2 separate regions of the Homo sapiens genome follow, and region 1 is linked to region 2. The links are contacts of gene promoters, found by promoter capture Hi-C in human tissues and cell types (Jung and others, 2019). All regions are on one chromosome and are shown on one strand. Each heading gives the region's core, a stretch centred on a gene start or on the middle of the fragment in contact. The rest is flanking DNA. Distances are from core to core; before and after follow the strand shown.

Region 1 (6,909 bases), core at 1,608-4,107, 740 kb before region 2:
CTATCCCAGAGTCAGTGTGAGGAAGTGACTCGCAAAATACTCTCAGCACTCAGGAGAAAAGAGTCACACACAAAACATGCAGGCGAAGATGGCCTCAGGTTTCCACTGTGCAGTGCTGGGCACCAGAGCCCGATGAACAGCAGAGTCCAGGGAGGAGGGAAAATGTGGTCCTCAGGGCCCAGCACAGGCAAATCTTCCTCCCTGTGTAGACAGGCTTGTATGTTTGACATCGCGTTCTTGCCTGCTGGTCAATAGAGAGAACTTAATCAAAAGCGTAGGAATTATGTCAAATATGCAAGAGCATACAAAGTATACACCTTCCTGGGAAAATGAACTGCAAAATACATTCAGTCAACTGAGATAAGAAGCAAAGATTAGCTCAAAAATGTAAAAGTCCCGCTATAGAAATGTTGGCCAAGTCCCCAGAGACTGGTTAAAATAAGTGGCATAAGAAATTTCTACACATAAAAATTAGCCGGGCGTGGTGGCGGGCGCCTGTAGTCCCAGCTACTCGGGAGGCTGAGGCAGGAGAATAGCTTGAACCTGGGAGGCGGAGGTTGCAGTGAGCTGAGATCACATCATTGCACTCCAGCCTGGGTGACAGAGCGAGAATCCATCTGAGAGAGAGAGAGAGAGAGAGAGAGAGAGAGGCAGGGAGGGAGGGAGAGAGAGACAGAGAGAGAGAAAAGGAAGAAGGGAGGAAGGGAGGAAGGAAACTTCAAAATCTATTTATGATACTCAGTTCCTATAAAATCTACAAAATAAAAATTTGGCTAAAGAAACGATCAGGAACAGGAACCCCGGATTAAATGAGTGCAAGGCCAGACGGGGAGCACGGGAGCGTGAGGAGAGTAAATGTCCTTCCGCGGCCTTTCTCCCAAAACACACACACACACCGCGTCTCATGGAGTGGTATTTCACAAATACGTTAGGTAATTATTTTGAAAAGCTTAAACATACACAGTCGTGTAACTTTAAATAAGCTGTGTGATGTTGTAAAATGACAAAGATAGTGACGGCAGAGAATATAGCCCATTCACAAATGCCAGAGTAAGATATGCCACATGGTACCCTAAAGAAAAAAGACTCAAAAAAAGATGCATGATGTGGAAAATAAGCTCTTCGGTTCGAGAGTATGTTTGATTCATGCTCTCCAATTCTCAAGCTTTAGTAACTGTTTTCTATCACCATACTTTTAACTATGTTTTCTTACCACATACAGTGTTATTTACCTTATGCTTTTTTTAAGTTGACTCACTTTTCAACTTAAAAACTCAGCATAGCATTTTTCTTAAGTAAAAATAATTACCAAAGCATGGGCCTGCAGTACTTTCTTTTAAAATATAGTACTTTTTTCCCCTAATATCCATTAAAATCAAACTATTCTGCATGCATTACCTGAAATGATTTCTCAAAACACCAATGATATGTCTTCCACACCTGGGAAACACTTGTCAAGCACTTAATAAATAGTACTTGATAAGTTTAACTTATTTGCTTTCTATTTATCATAGATCACAAAGAACAATGATGGCCGGGCACCATGGCTCATGCCTGTAATCCCAGCACTTTGGGAGACTGAGGTGGGTGGATCATTTGAGGTCAGGAGTTCAAGACCAGCCTGGCCGAATGGTGAAACCCCACCTCTACTAAAAATACAAAAATTATCCAGGCAGTAGTGGCGCACACCTGTAATCCCAGCTACTTGAGAGGCTGAGGCAGGAGAATTGCTTGAGCCCGGGAGGTGGAGGTTGCAGTAAGCCGAGATCACGCCACTGCCTGGGTGACAGAGTGAGACCCTGTCTCAATTAAAAAAAAAAAAAAAAGAAAAAGAAAAAAGGAAAACCATGGTTTTAGCAATTATGAGGCTTTTGAAATTTAAAGCTTTAAAAGCAGAGCCGACAATCAACCATTAAGAAGAGTAAGATGCTAAAAATTCACACACAAACACTTATACTGAAATATAGTCAGGTGTCACCTAATGATGGGGATCCATTCTGAGAAATGCATCATTAGGCAATTTCATCAGAGTGCACCGACACACACCTGGGCGGAGCAGCCTGCTACACACCTGGGCTGCGTGGTGGAGCCTGTTGCTCCAGGGCTGCAGACCTGTGCCCTATGTGACTGTGGGGAATACTGTGGGCAACTGAAATACAATGGTAAGTATTCGTGTATCTAAACATAAGAAAGGGACAATAGAAAATACAGTATCAAAGATTAAAAATGCTGCACCTGTTTAGGGCACTTAGCATGAATGGGGCTTGTAGAACGGGAAGTTGCTCTGGGTGAGTCAGTGAGTGTGTGGAGCGTGAATCTGAAGGCCCAGGTCGTGACCATAACTACTGCAGGCTTTATAAACACTGTACACTTAGGATATATTAAATTTATGCAAAATAGTTTTCTTTTCGAAATAGTAGATTAACCTTAGATTACTGTAACTTTTTTATGTTATAAACTTAAATTTTTTTAACTTTTTGACTCTTTTATAACACTTTGCTTAAAACACAAACACATTATACAGCTGTACAAAATTATTTTCTTTCTTTATATTCTCATTCTATAAGCTTTTTTCTATTTTTTCATTTTTTTTTTTAACTTTTAAAATGTTTCTGTTAAAAACAAAGAGGCAAACACACAGTGGCCTAGGCCCACACAGGGTCAGGGTCCTCGGTGTCACTGTCTTCCCCCCAACATCTGGTCCCACTGGAAGGTCTGCAGGGGCAATGACACGCACAGAGCCGTCACCTCCTGTGATGACAATGCCTTCTTCTGGACACCTCCCACAGGACCTGCCTGCAGCTGCTTTACAATTAACTTGTTTTTCTAATTAGTAGGAGGAGTACACTCTAAAATAACAATAAAATGTATAGTATAGCACGCATCATCATTATCAAGTAGAATGTGCTATGCACAACTGTACGAGCTATACGTTTATACAACTGGTAACGCAGTAGGTTTGCCTATACCAGCATCACCGCAAACGCGTGAGAAATGCATTGTGCAATGACATCACAAGGCAGTAGAAGTCTTCCAGCTCCACGATCATCTCAGAGGCCCACCGTTGTCTGTGCCATCCATCATGGACTGAAACGTTGCTAAGCGACTCACGACTACACAAAGAATAAGAGCCTCACTGCTTCCTTCTGTTGCCTGCTGGACCCCCCATTGAGTGTGTGGTCAAGGGCGCACTCCACGGTGAGTATGGGTCATCACTGCACAGTGTGTGTGTGGCCATGGACCCACTCCACGGTGTGTGTGTAACCATGGAGCCCTCCACAGGGCGTATGTGGCCAGTGAGGAAGGCAGGCATGGTTCAGCTCCTGAAGGCCTGGGCTTAGCTCTCAAGGAACCGGGCTTGGACACATTTGGCCTGTGGAGGGCTGACCCTCAGCTCCTGCCTCACACTGCCCCCATGCTCCACTGTCGGCAGCCTTTGAAGACATTTCAGGCCCCATGTCTGCCAATCTCCCAGGGCCATGTCCCAGCCACGCCAGCCTCCTCTGTTTCTGAGCAAACCAGGCTCCTCCAGCCTCAGGCCCTGAGTGTTCCACGCTGTTGGTAGCTGCCCCCACCCATGCGATTCCTCCCTTCTAGGATGGTCTCATGCAGGTGTCTCTGTCTCCCACACAGCCCAAATGCCCAGGGAGGGCTGAGCCTCTCTCAGTGGAGGGAGCCAGCCTCTGGAAGGCAGCCCCAGCTCCCGGCTCGGACGCTGACTCAGCCCTGGGAGGGGAGGGGGTTCCAGGGAAACTCCTCCCAGTTCGGGAGAGACACTTCCCAGCTCCGGAGAGACTCCTCCCAGCTCCGGAGAGACTCCTCCCAGTTCCGGAGAGACTCCTCCCAGCTCCAGAGAGACACCTCCCAGTTCCGGAGAGACTCCTCCCAGCTCCGGAGAGACTCCTCCCAGTTCCGGAGAGACTCCTCCCAGCTCCGGAGAGACTCCTCAAAGCTCTGGAGAGACTCCTCCCAGTTCTGGAGAGACACCTCCCAGTTCCGGAGCAACTCCTCCCAGTTCTGGAGAGACTCCTCCCAGTTCCGGAGAGACTCCTCCCAGTTCCGGAGAGACTCCTCCCAGTTCCGGAGAGACTCCTCCCAGCTCCGGAGAGACTCCTCCCAGTTCCGGAGAGACTCCTCCCAGTTCTGGAGAGACTCCTCCTCATTCCAGAGAGACTCCTCCCAGCTCCGGAGAGACTCCTCCCAGCTCCAGAGAGACTCCTCCCAGCTCCGGAGAGACACCTCCCAGTTCCAGAGAGACTCCTCCCAGCTCCAGGAACGTGTCTGAACGTGGTTGGCTTGTTTTCCTCTGGCCACTGCCAGGACCCTGGGCGAAGGTTTGGCCAGCAGTGGAAGACATAGCACAGTGGCCCCAGCAGACTCCACGGTCAGCACAGAGCTCCTGCCCGGGGTCAGCCTGAGGCCCACCCTCCTCTGGCAGCTGTCGCTGGACCTGCTGCTTCAGACCACTGTACTCCAAGCTCCTGGTTTTACTGCCAAATGTGCAGCACCAAGACAGCTTGAAATACTCTTTCACTGGTCTTGATGAGAATTCACCCTTCTTGAAGTGAATTCCTTCTCTTTCTTTTCACGTGGTAGGTCCAATGTCTCCTCCTCAGAGTGGCCTTCTCTGAATCCTCTTTATTTCTGTCCCTCACAGGGAAAGCCCTGTTTATTTTGTGTCTCCACCACCCATACAGAGAAGAAAGGTCTTGAGAGGGGTGTTTGGTAGGGCCTCTCTGACCACAGCATCCTCAGAGCCCCTGAACTAGAGCTGGCCCAGGAAGGACCAAACCAGAAATCTACTTTTTCTTCTTTGTTATTTCTTTATTTAATATTAATTGCAAACAAATTTGTAATTACAAGCATGCTAAAAAATCTTTTATTAAGAGGCACATACACACTTTGCAGCTTCCAGGTGTCTGAGTTTATTGGTTACATTTTTCAAAAGGCCATCACACGACCCTGGAGAGAAGCCCCCAGCTGCCGAGCAGCAGTAGGAGGAGGGCGAGGCCACAGGACGGCACGCGGGAGGCGCCAGCCGCAGAGAACACGCACAAGCCTGACGGCTGGAGCAGCACCACGTGCATTTCCTTAAAGAACGGAGGTGCAGATCCGGGCAGGGCGAGCTCAGGGTTGGTTAGTTCAGGAGCTCTGCGCGTCTCAGGCAGCCAGGACCCTGGGTCGAGAGAGGCTGCGATGGTCCCACCGTCACATTCAGATCTGACCATGGCCAGTGGAAGAGGAAGAGATGTGTCCTCTTGGGCTGTTTTCTCAGGGACTAGCAAACTTTGCTCGGGCCCTGTCCACCCACGTTCCCACAAATATCAATGCCAGAATTGGGCCACACAAGCCTCCCGTGCTGGTGCCTGCGGCTGGCGGAGACAGACACGCACCACAGCAGGTGAGCACCATGCGACTGGAGTTAAAATGAAAACACCTTTCTTCTAGAAGCATGAAGGAAACATTTCAAATGATGACGCTTTGTGCTGCTGATGGTGAGTGAAACAGAACTCTCCATCCATGGGATGTGGGCACACGACCCAGCCCCAGCTTCCTAGAAGGCAGCGGGATGGGTACAGGACGGGGACGCTGCCACCTGCCTTTGGCCCAGGACTCCCATCTCTAAGAATACATCTTAAGGAAAGAAGTAAAGTGCATATGAGCAAAAATATTATGTACTGATATGTTCATTGCATTAATATTTTAAAAATTCAAATATCCAAAATTGGAATGCTTATACAAATTTTGAACTATACAAATAACCCAATATTTACATGCTATTACACTGATATTTAAGAAGAGTGTTCATTAAAATGAAAAACAAACTTTTACCATTAAATGAAAAAAATTACATACCGTATAATGTCTACACTTGAAAAAGGAGTATATAGAAAAATAAAGGCACCCCTGCCAAGTGTTAATAATAGTTTTCTCTGCAGGGTAGGCTTCCGGGTGATTTTCTGTATTTACACATTTTTAGCCCTCTAAATATTCTATAGTGAGGGCGTCTGTAGTTGCTATTGTTTCCATTATCAGTTATCTATTGCCACAGTGGTAACCACAAGAAACAACCACAAACCTCTGTGCACGTAACCACCACCACTGGCGCCTGCTCACCGTCGAGGTGGTGTTGGGGCAGGGCTGCTCTCTGAGCTGGGGCGGAGGAGAATGAATGCATCTGCTCAGCCGGCTCGGCTGGGTGGCTTCACCTAGCTTTGCCGAGCCCCCTCCCACGCCAGCTGGGCCCCGCAGAGACTCTCAGGGCCCCAGGCAGATGCTCGTGACAGTACAGGGCTTCGTGGGAACTGCAAGAGCTCACGGCGTCTTAGGCCTCGGCTGGGCAAGGCCCCCTTCCTACCGGCCAAAGCAAGTCAGAGGCTGCGCGGCCTCCAAGGGTGGGAAAGGAGCCCCTGTTGATGAGAGGAGCTGCGGTTCGTTGCAGCGACGGGACAGCAGGATGAGGACCTACAGCCAGCTTTACTTCAGTCCACGATTGAGACCCGGCTGCTGTTCTCAACAGCTGTTCCCACCATAGCCTGAAAACCCAGATATTTGCTGCCTCAGTTTCCATGGCCAGTATGGTAGTCACGTGGCCAGCTCTGGCCAATGAGACCAAGGGTAAGTCCAGAGGGGTGAGATTCTGGGAATCACTCTTCCTTCATGATTTAAAAAAACAACAACAAAGGAAGAAAAGAGGGAGAGGAAGAAGCTCACAAGACACCCCCAGCCCCACCACAGAAGCCTCCCTGCACCCGGCCTTCCCATGTGGCCCCGTGAGGGAGGCCATAAGGCCCAGATGCAGGTGTGAACACACACCTGAAGAAGCCAGGAGAACAGCCCCGATGTGTCTCCTCCAGGGTTTCAGGGAAGAAATCAATGCCCACAGTTGAAGCCACGGTGAGCATGCCT
Region 2 (7,462 bases), core at 1,492-3,991:
CACTGCATCAACAAAGAGATATTTGACTAAACTTATGCTTGGCATATTGAGATGGGAAAATAGCTGACAAAAAGTTTTCTGGCTAAACATGAATTAGCCAGAAATAATAACTAAATTATATCATTTCTATAATGAAAATAAAATCCTTTTGCAGTTTTAGCATAGTAAAATAAATAAAAAGGAAGCCAATACTCATGATAAAGCATTTTGCTAATGGCCTAAGAGGGAAAGTTAGTTTAGAAATGTGAAAACAGCTGGAGTCTTTGGTAATTAGTTTCTCTTGCTGTTCTTTATTGTAACTTTCATCAGTGACAGGCATTTAAATTCTGAATGCATAAGCCACATTTTAGAATGGGCCCTGCATCACTTTTTAATTAAAAAAAAAAACAAAAAAACCTACATTTCCAAGAGAGGGGAACTTCTTCCTGCATCCTAGAGGAACTCTCTGGAAAGTATAGAGCTGATCACTTCCTGTCTTAACTTTGAACTGAGTGAATTACTTTTCTATCCTTTCTAACATGACAGCTCTCTGGCATTCCTGCCAGTAATAACTTTCTTGGAGACTTACAAATAAAAGACAGACATAACTCTTTCCCAGTGTTTTAAATAAATGTATTGTTTTTCTCCATAAAAATGGAACCTGATTATCTCTCCAAACTCCATTTCTAGAATTTTGAGAAACTAAAATTTGGCATTCAGGACACATGAGCTCCTCCAGATTTGAAAGGGGTTTCAAAGGCTCCAAACCTGCCTCATCTGTCAGAGTTTTGGACAAATGCATTTCATTTATCTTCCTAGAGTTCCCAGAGGATTCTGGAGTTGCTACATGAAAGACGTGTTGGGATTCTTGAATACAAGGCACGGAGGGCCAAGGATTTTCTTCTGTTCTCCATATTGCCAGAGGAAGTGACATGGATTTGCCAGTATTGCAGGTTTTAACATCTGCATTCTGTTTATGATTTTGTTGCTTAGGAGATCTGGCTAAGACATTTGGCCCCTTTGACTTTTGTTCCTCATCTGTAGAATGGGAATAATTAAGTCTGCTTCTTGTCTGCCATTCTTGCAGCGGACGATGGTGGATAAATGAACATGCTTTCAAACTTTTGAGTTCTGACGAGCAGTACTCTCAACAAAGTGGAAAGTGAAAAACAGGTTCTTTAGTAGCAAATACTTCTTAAAGGAAGTATGTCAGCTTCGAGTGTAAATTTTATTCTTTGGATAATCTTAGAATTAGTGGTATGTAGTGTTTATTTTCTTTTTACTTTAATTTTCACTGCAGTTCCCTAACAGTGATTCCTATTTACTTAATCATTTGCAGCTGCTCTGCTCACCTGTTTTTCTGGACCCAGGAGCAGTCCCTCAAGAGTTTTATTATAATTTCCTTCTAAGTCCTTAAACCAGGAGGAATGTGTTTAAGTGCTTAATAGATTCCCTGGGCTTTGGAATTTTAAGGAGAATTCTGAGAGTAGCCCTCCTTCAGGAAAAGGTGCATTTCTTTCCCGTCTTTCCGTGGCCCGACGGACATCACTTTCCTGATAAAATTGTGTGGGAAAGGTTGCAATAGCATTGCCTTTGCCTCAGCAGCCAGTCCCAGAACTTGCTGATACAGCCCCCTCCCCCAAAGTTCATAGCCAAAGCAGTGGGCTAGACATCGGATGAAACCTCAGATTTGGATTTTCTGTGTTTTGTGCTTTTCCCAATGCCCCTGACAAGTCAATTGATTCATTGTTCTTGAACAAATCTTCACTCTTCTGGCTTTCTGTGTGAGACAGAATTAGGGCTTTTTCCTGTAAAGTTATAAGCCAAGGCTAAACTATGTCAGCAATGTTGTCTGCAGTGGATATTATCCAGAGTCTGGGTGTGCAAAAATTTCCTGGTTTCCAACGTAGTCTTCGTGGGTGAGTTTACAACCTCCACAAGCCCTGTGCTCCCCGCACAAACACCTGAAATGCTTTGACAGAGCTGTTTAAAAACAGCCACATGTGTCTGTGAATGATGCCCAACCACATGCTCCCCCGACTTGAGAGGATCAAGGCTACAGCCCAGGTCAGACCCCGGATCTTTAGGACCTAAATTCCCCCATCCCTGCAGTGGATAACCCCGTGTAAAGATGCCAAAGGCGGGCTGCCCCCGGCGCAGCCTTTCCTGGACATGTGTTCCCAGCTGCCTTTGCTGGAGCGCCGCTGATCCTTCAGCACCTCTGAGAGGCAATGTTCTGGGCTGGACCAGGGGGCCTTAGAGGGCAGAGGTCAAGGAGAACCCCGGAGTCTGGGGACCGGCCAAGGCTTGGCGTTAACCTTTGTGGATGAAAAGTCCCGCTGGGCTGATCCTGCGCGGACCGGGCCTGGACCCTGGGGCGTGAGGAGGGCGCGGTGCGTCCCGTGGTTGTGCTTGGAAGCCCCCCGAGGGTGCGCGCGCGTGGGTATGAGTGCGTGCGTGTGCCTGGGTGTGCGTGTGTGTAAGTGTGCACGTGTGTGTGTGAGAGTGCGCGCGGGGAAGGAGGCACAGAGACAGCCCGGACAGGCCACTGCGCAGCCCTGGTGGCCCCCGCTCCACCTCTCGCTCCGCAGACCCGCGCCAGGGAGGCCTCTGGGCCGCAGCGGGCACCGGAGCGGAGCGGGCGCGGCAGCGGGCGCTGGGAGGTGGGGCTGGGGGAGGAGAGGGGGAGGGAGAGAGGCGGGCGGGAGGGGAGGATCCGGGAAGCTCCGGGGTATTTGACAGGAGCGAGGGCGGACGCAAAGAACGCGGAGGACCTCTGGGTGCCTGCAGGGGAGCTGCTCCAGCCGGGCCGCCGGGAGCGGTGGGGAGAGCATCGCGGAGCCGCCCCTCCACGCGCCCGCCCAGCCGCGCTCGCCCACTGGGCTCTCCCGGCTGCAGTGCCAGGGCGCAGGACGCGGCCGATCTCCCGCTCCCGCCACCTCCGCCACCATGCTGCTCCCCCAGCTCTGCTGGCTGCCGCTGCTCGCTGGGCTGCTCCCGCCGGTGCCCGCTCAGAAGTTCTCGGCGCTCACGGTAAGCCCGGGCCCGCGGGACCTGGAGCTCAAGTGGTGCCGCCTCTTGCAGCCGGCCGGGTTCGGGTCCCCGCGCCCCGCTCCAGGCCCAGGCGCCTGGGCACGGGGAGCAGGTGGCCCCGGGGGCCGTGGAGCCTTCGCCTGCCGGCGAGGCTGGAGCAGGTAGGACGCAGCGTGCGCGCCTGGGACCCGGCTGGGATGGGCTTCTGGGGACCCTGCCCGCCGGGGTCCTGCTGCGGCTGCGACGGGCTCCTCGGGTTCCACCCGGCTGGGACCCCACCTGCCTCGGGGGCTCTGACCCGGCTGTGAGAGGATCCTGGGGTCCTGCAGACCCCGGACAAGTGGGAGCTGCGGGTGCGCTCGGGTGTCCCGCACTCACTGCTGGGCCTGAGCCTGTGGGGAACCAGGTCTGGGAGCGCCGGCGCCGCCCCGCGGACTGTCCCAAGGCCAAGACAGACCCGCCGGGACTGGGCGCCCACCTCGCCCACGGGGACCCGGCCTGGAGCGTGTTCTCCCGACCGCTTTGGGCTCGTGCGCCGCGCGGATCCCGGGCCTCTCGCCGGCTGAAGGGGCTGCCAGTCGTGGGCCCCACTCGTGGGTCTGACTCTCCCAGAGACCCTCGTAAGTGAGCCGAGGAAGAAGCAGATGAGGTTACAGATGATTCTTCACGGGCCTGAGTGTTATTAGAGAAGCGCTTTCTTCCCTTCTCAGGACAGAACTGGAGGCAGGCGGCGGCTCCCCGCTCTGCGGGGCCTCTGGGTTCTTCCTCGTGGCAGGGATGCTGCGCTCCTGAGCGCGAGGGTCACCGCGGTTGACCGCTGTGTGTTTTTCTTTCTGAGCTGTAACTTCTATGCGACAGCCTTGGCCCGGCCAACGCACGCGGTGTCAAACGAGGAGCTATGTAGAGGGGGCTGAGCCAAGCCCCCGCCGGCCAAGCCAACCCGCGGCGGCCGCTGGGCCAAGGCCGGGTGTCTGCAGCCCCCAGCTCCAGCCGTCCTCCTGGGCTTGCAGGGTTTGCAAACCCATCATTAATGCAATCGCCAGAAACGAAAACATTCCACTTAAATGTGTTTTTGAACAAGTGTTTGAGAAAACACGAAGGTAGTGAGAACGCCTCTGGTGGACAGCCGTCTTTTTTAAGTGGCCGGGGACTTGTCCTAAAGGTGTTTATTGTATTGAAAATAAAGATGGTTGAAATAAGCTGTGGTCGGTTCTGCCTTTCAGCAAATTTAAAACAGTCATGTGGGCATCTTTTCTTTTTCTTTTTCTTTTTCTTCGTCTTCTTTCTTTTGCGTTTTAGCAGTGTGAAGGATGGTTTGTGAGTTCATTGCTCATACCTCAAATTCTTCTGCAGCAGCCCGGGGTCCCTGCCTTGTGTCTCACAAATGACTTGTAGATTAGAAACTGCTAACTGGGGCTCCAAGGAGGTTTTCACACACTCAGGCTTTCCCTGAAGATCCTTTATCTCCCCAGAGGGGGCCCTCAGAGGATACTCACTGGAGGCATTCATGTATATGCACATCTGTACATGCATCTAGACATAAATATACTCACGTATACACTCACAAAAAGACCCCCCACATACTCTTAAAGCACACTAGAGGAGACAGAGAAACTAAGGCCAATTCTCCAAAGGAGATCATAGCATTTTCTTCCAGGACTGTAGCAGCAGGTACCTACAGTTGCCACGGATTTTCAGATTTTCTGAAAGCGCAAAAAGTAGAGACTGCCATCTGCCTGCTGCCCTGTGTGTGTGGGGGGTGGGGTTGGGCCTGTTGGTCCCCCCTGGAAGAGCAGAATCAAGGTAGTTAGTAATTAGAACAGTTTAAGACTCGGCAGGTTTTCTTGTCTTCTCTCCCCTGTCTCATCTAACTATTTACTTGAACCCTCTCACCTTTTGCCCCCTTGAGGTTGCCCCAAGGATGTCTTGGGTTGCGGTGAGACCCGCTGCATGTGGGGTCTCTGTGCAGGAGCTGATACCCCACGTGGGCTTTGCCCTGTTGGCTGCATTCCCCAAGAACAGTTTGCCTGAAATTTACATTTGCAAATAAAATCAGTATCCCGAAGAAAAGATTAAAGCCATAACACATTTTGGCACACTTCTTCTCACCCCACCCCCAGTCTAGAAAATCAAGAAGTAGTTGAGTTACAAAGTAACTGAGGCAGGCCTGAAATCTGACTGGTCGCTGGGAGATGTGAGATGTGCAGGATTTTTCAGTGTGCTCATCTCTTTTCAAATTGCCTTCTGGTTTTTGGAAATCTCTTTTGTCTCCGGAGGCCCTCATTCAAAGAAGGGCCTTCTCTCCCTACGATTTGCATCCTACCTACTTTAATAAATCAAGAGGCAGTATCAGTCCATGCAGTGGGTGGGACCCACAGCTTAGGGTCTTGCTGGATGTGTGACTTCAGGCAAGTTACTTAATTTCATAATCTTCAGTCCCCTTATCTGTAAAATGAGAATACATAATCTCTTTCAAGCATGTGGTGAGGATTAAAGGTAGGGCTTTTAATGCGCCTACTATATGTGAGTTCTCCAGCTAACATTGTTTTGATGGTGCCCATGCCGTGGGTCCGTATAAGAGAGTGCTATCAATTGATACCGTAATTATCAATGCATATAGCGTTGTGGCATTAAGGTGTGTGTGGATTCAACTTTGCAGTATTTTCACCTGCCGCAGATTCTCAGAGCACACCACTTGGCTCTGGGTGTATCTGTGGACTTTGTGGGAGTAGCCATGTGGGACTCTATAGACCAAGGAGGAAAGCTTGCCTCTCTGCCTCCTTCTACTCCATTCATTTCTTCTCATCTAGAAGCAGGGAAATATGTCAGCCTCTCTGGGGCTTTCAGTTTGCCATACCTGGCTTCTCAGGACCACGCATTTGTCTTACTCACCTATGGTGAGTGTGCTTTCTTGGTGGGTCCAGCATTGCTGGTGTGCTCACCTCTGCTACTTTATGTTTAAGATTCAGAGAATCCACTTTGTCTGGTAATGATCTCTCTTCTTTCCACCAAAGTCATTCTTTAGAAATGGCACCATGAGGCCCTCTGTGTCTCTCATTGTGACTTTCTGATGGCTTTGCACAACTTCCTGGTTATTGCTCAGACCCTCTCACCTCCAGTCAACAATGGCATTCTTAAGTGTGTCCAATGCGCTCTTAATTTGGATGCAGGTCAATTTCTTCCTTGAAGAAGGAGGTACATTGAATGCCACACCGTGCCCATTTTCCTTTTTATTTCTGTGAATGACTGAGATGAGGGAATGATCTCTAGTATAAATGGTTTTTATTACACATAATTCTGTTTTCAAAGAGCAAACAGGCGTGATCACAATTACTCAACTTTATCATGGTTGTCATTATATGAATTTTGATGGACTGATCCATAAGCCCATACCTAGGTGATTTCTTTAAAGGCAGAGAGAAGAACAATATTGCCTGGGACCCCTTTCCCAGAAGTTTTTGGTTAGAGCCAAAGTATTCATTCCCATGTTGACTAAATCATATTTTGCTCACACTTAGAATGTTGAAGTCACATTACCATCCTTCTCAGACTTCTCTTACTGCCAATACCTAACGCTCCCCTAAGGTCATACGCACGACTTCGTTAAAGGTACCGTTGTCTCCACATTCAAGAGATGAGGAAACTGAAGTTTTGAGAGACTCTGAAGGGCACCTGGTCACTAAGCAGATCCGAATATTTCTCAAGTCATCCTGCCATTATTTTTCTTTCTTCGTGGGAGTTCCCTGCACTGTTTTTTGCACTGTCTTCAGGAACTTTACAATTCCACACTGCCGTTTCACCTCTCAGACTGTAGTTGACTTTCATCCTGAATCCTCATCTTCTCACAGAGGGTCTGGCACCTGGTAAATGCCTCTTATTGGTCTTGTGGAATGCATGACCACAGACCTGAAACAGTTATTTCCCACTCCTATTTGTGTTTATTTGCTTTGAAAGAGAAGAAAGGTGATAAGAAAACAATATTTAGCCATGTGTAATTTTTTTAAAGTTTCATTAGCAAGTTCATGAGATGATTTAATATTGATTTTGCTGAAACAGCCAAAATAAAAATGCTATTCCATTTCTGAGCAGTTGTGGTTTGGAATGCGTACCTCATCCTGTTTTGATATAGTTCTCACTCAGCCTTGGATCTTCAAGGGAATTACTGTGATTTTTTTTCCTTTCTTCTTCCATTGCAAATGCCTTGAGTCCATTTCATGCTCTGGGAGGGCTTCTACTGCATTCCCCAGTAGAAGACGGACCACGAAGGTGGTTAAGGAGGAGAGAACTAAACATAATCAAAATTTTCCAACTTAGAAGCCCATTTACATGGCGTCTAAAAACCCAAACATCTGGAAGAATCACTTTAATTTTGCTGTGAAATCAAGACCGTAAATAACACTATAAGCAATTGCAGTCCCTAACAAGACCATGCAGCCAATGGGCATGGATG

What was found. The method cuts DNA at HindIII sites, captures the fragments that hold promoters and counts their contacts. A contact is called where the count stands out against the background at its distance.
Region 1: a contact is called between a fragment that was not itself captured here and the fragment with the promoter of SMOC2 in region 2, in 1 of the 25 tissues and cell types used here (adrenal gland).

Annotation. Positions count from the first base shown.
Region 1 is chr6:167,700,336-167,707,244 of GRCh38, forward strand. No RefSeq gene overlaps it. Among named protein-coding and RNA genes, the nearest start is that of LINC02487, 7.5 kb to the left of the region's middle. RefSeq lists an enhancer at 2,948-3,489. The HindIII fragment of the contact is 5,604 bases long and covers 56-5,659 here.
Region 2 is chr6:168,438,443-168,445,904 of GRCh38, forward strand. It overlaps SMOC2 (SPARC related modular calcium binding 2), which reads left to right and starts at 2,742. Exons shown (of 13, transcript NM_001166412.2): 1 at 2,742-3,012. The coding sequence starts at 2,929. The HindIII fragment of the contact is 15,076 bases long and covers 1-7,462 here.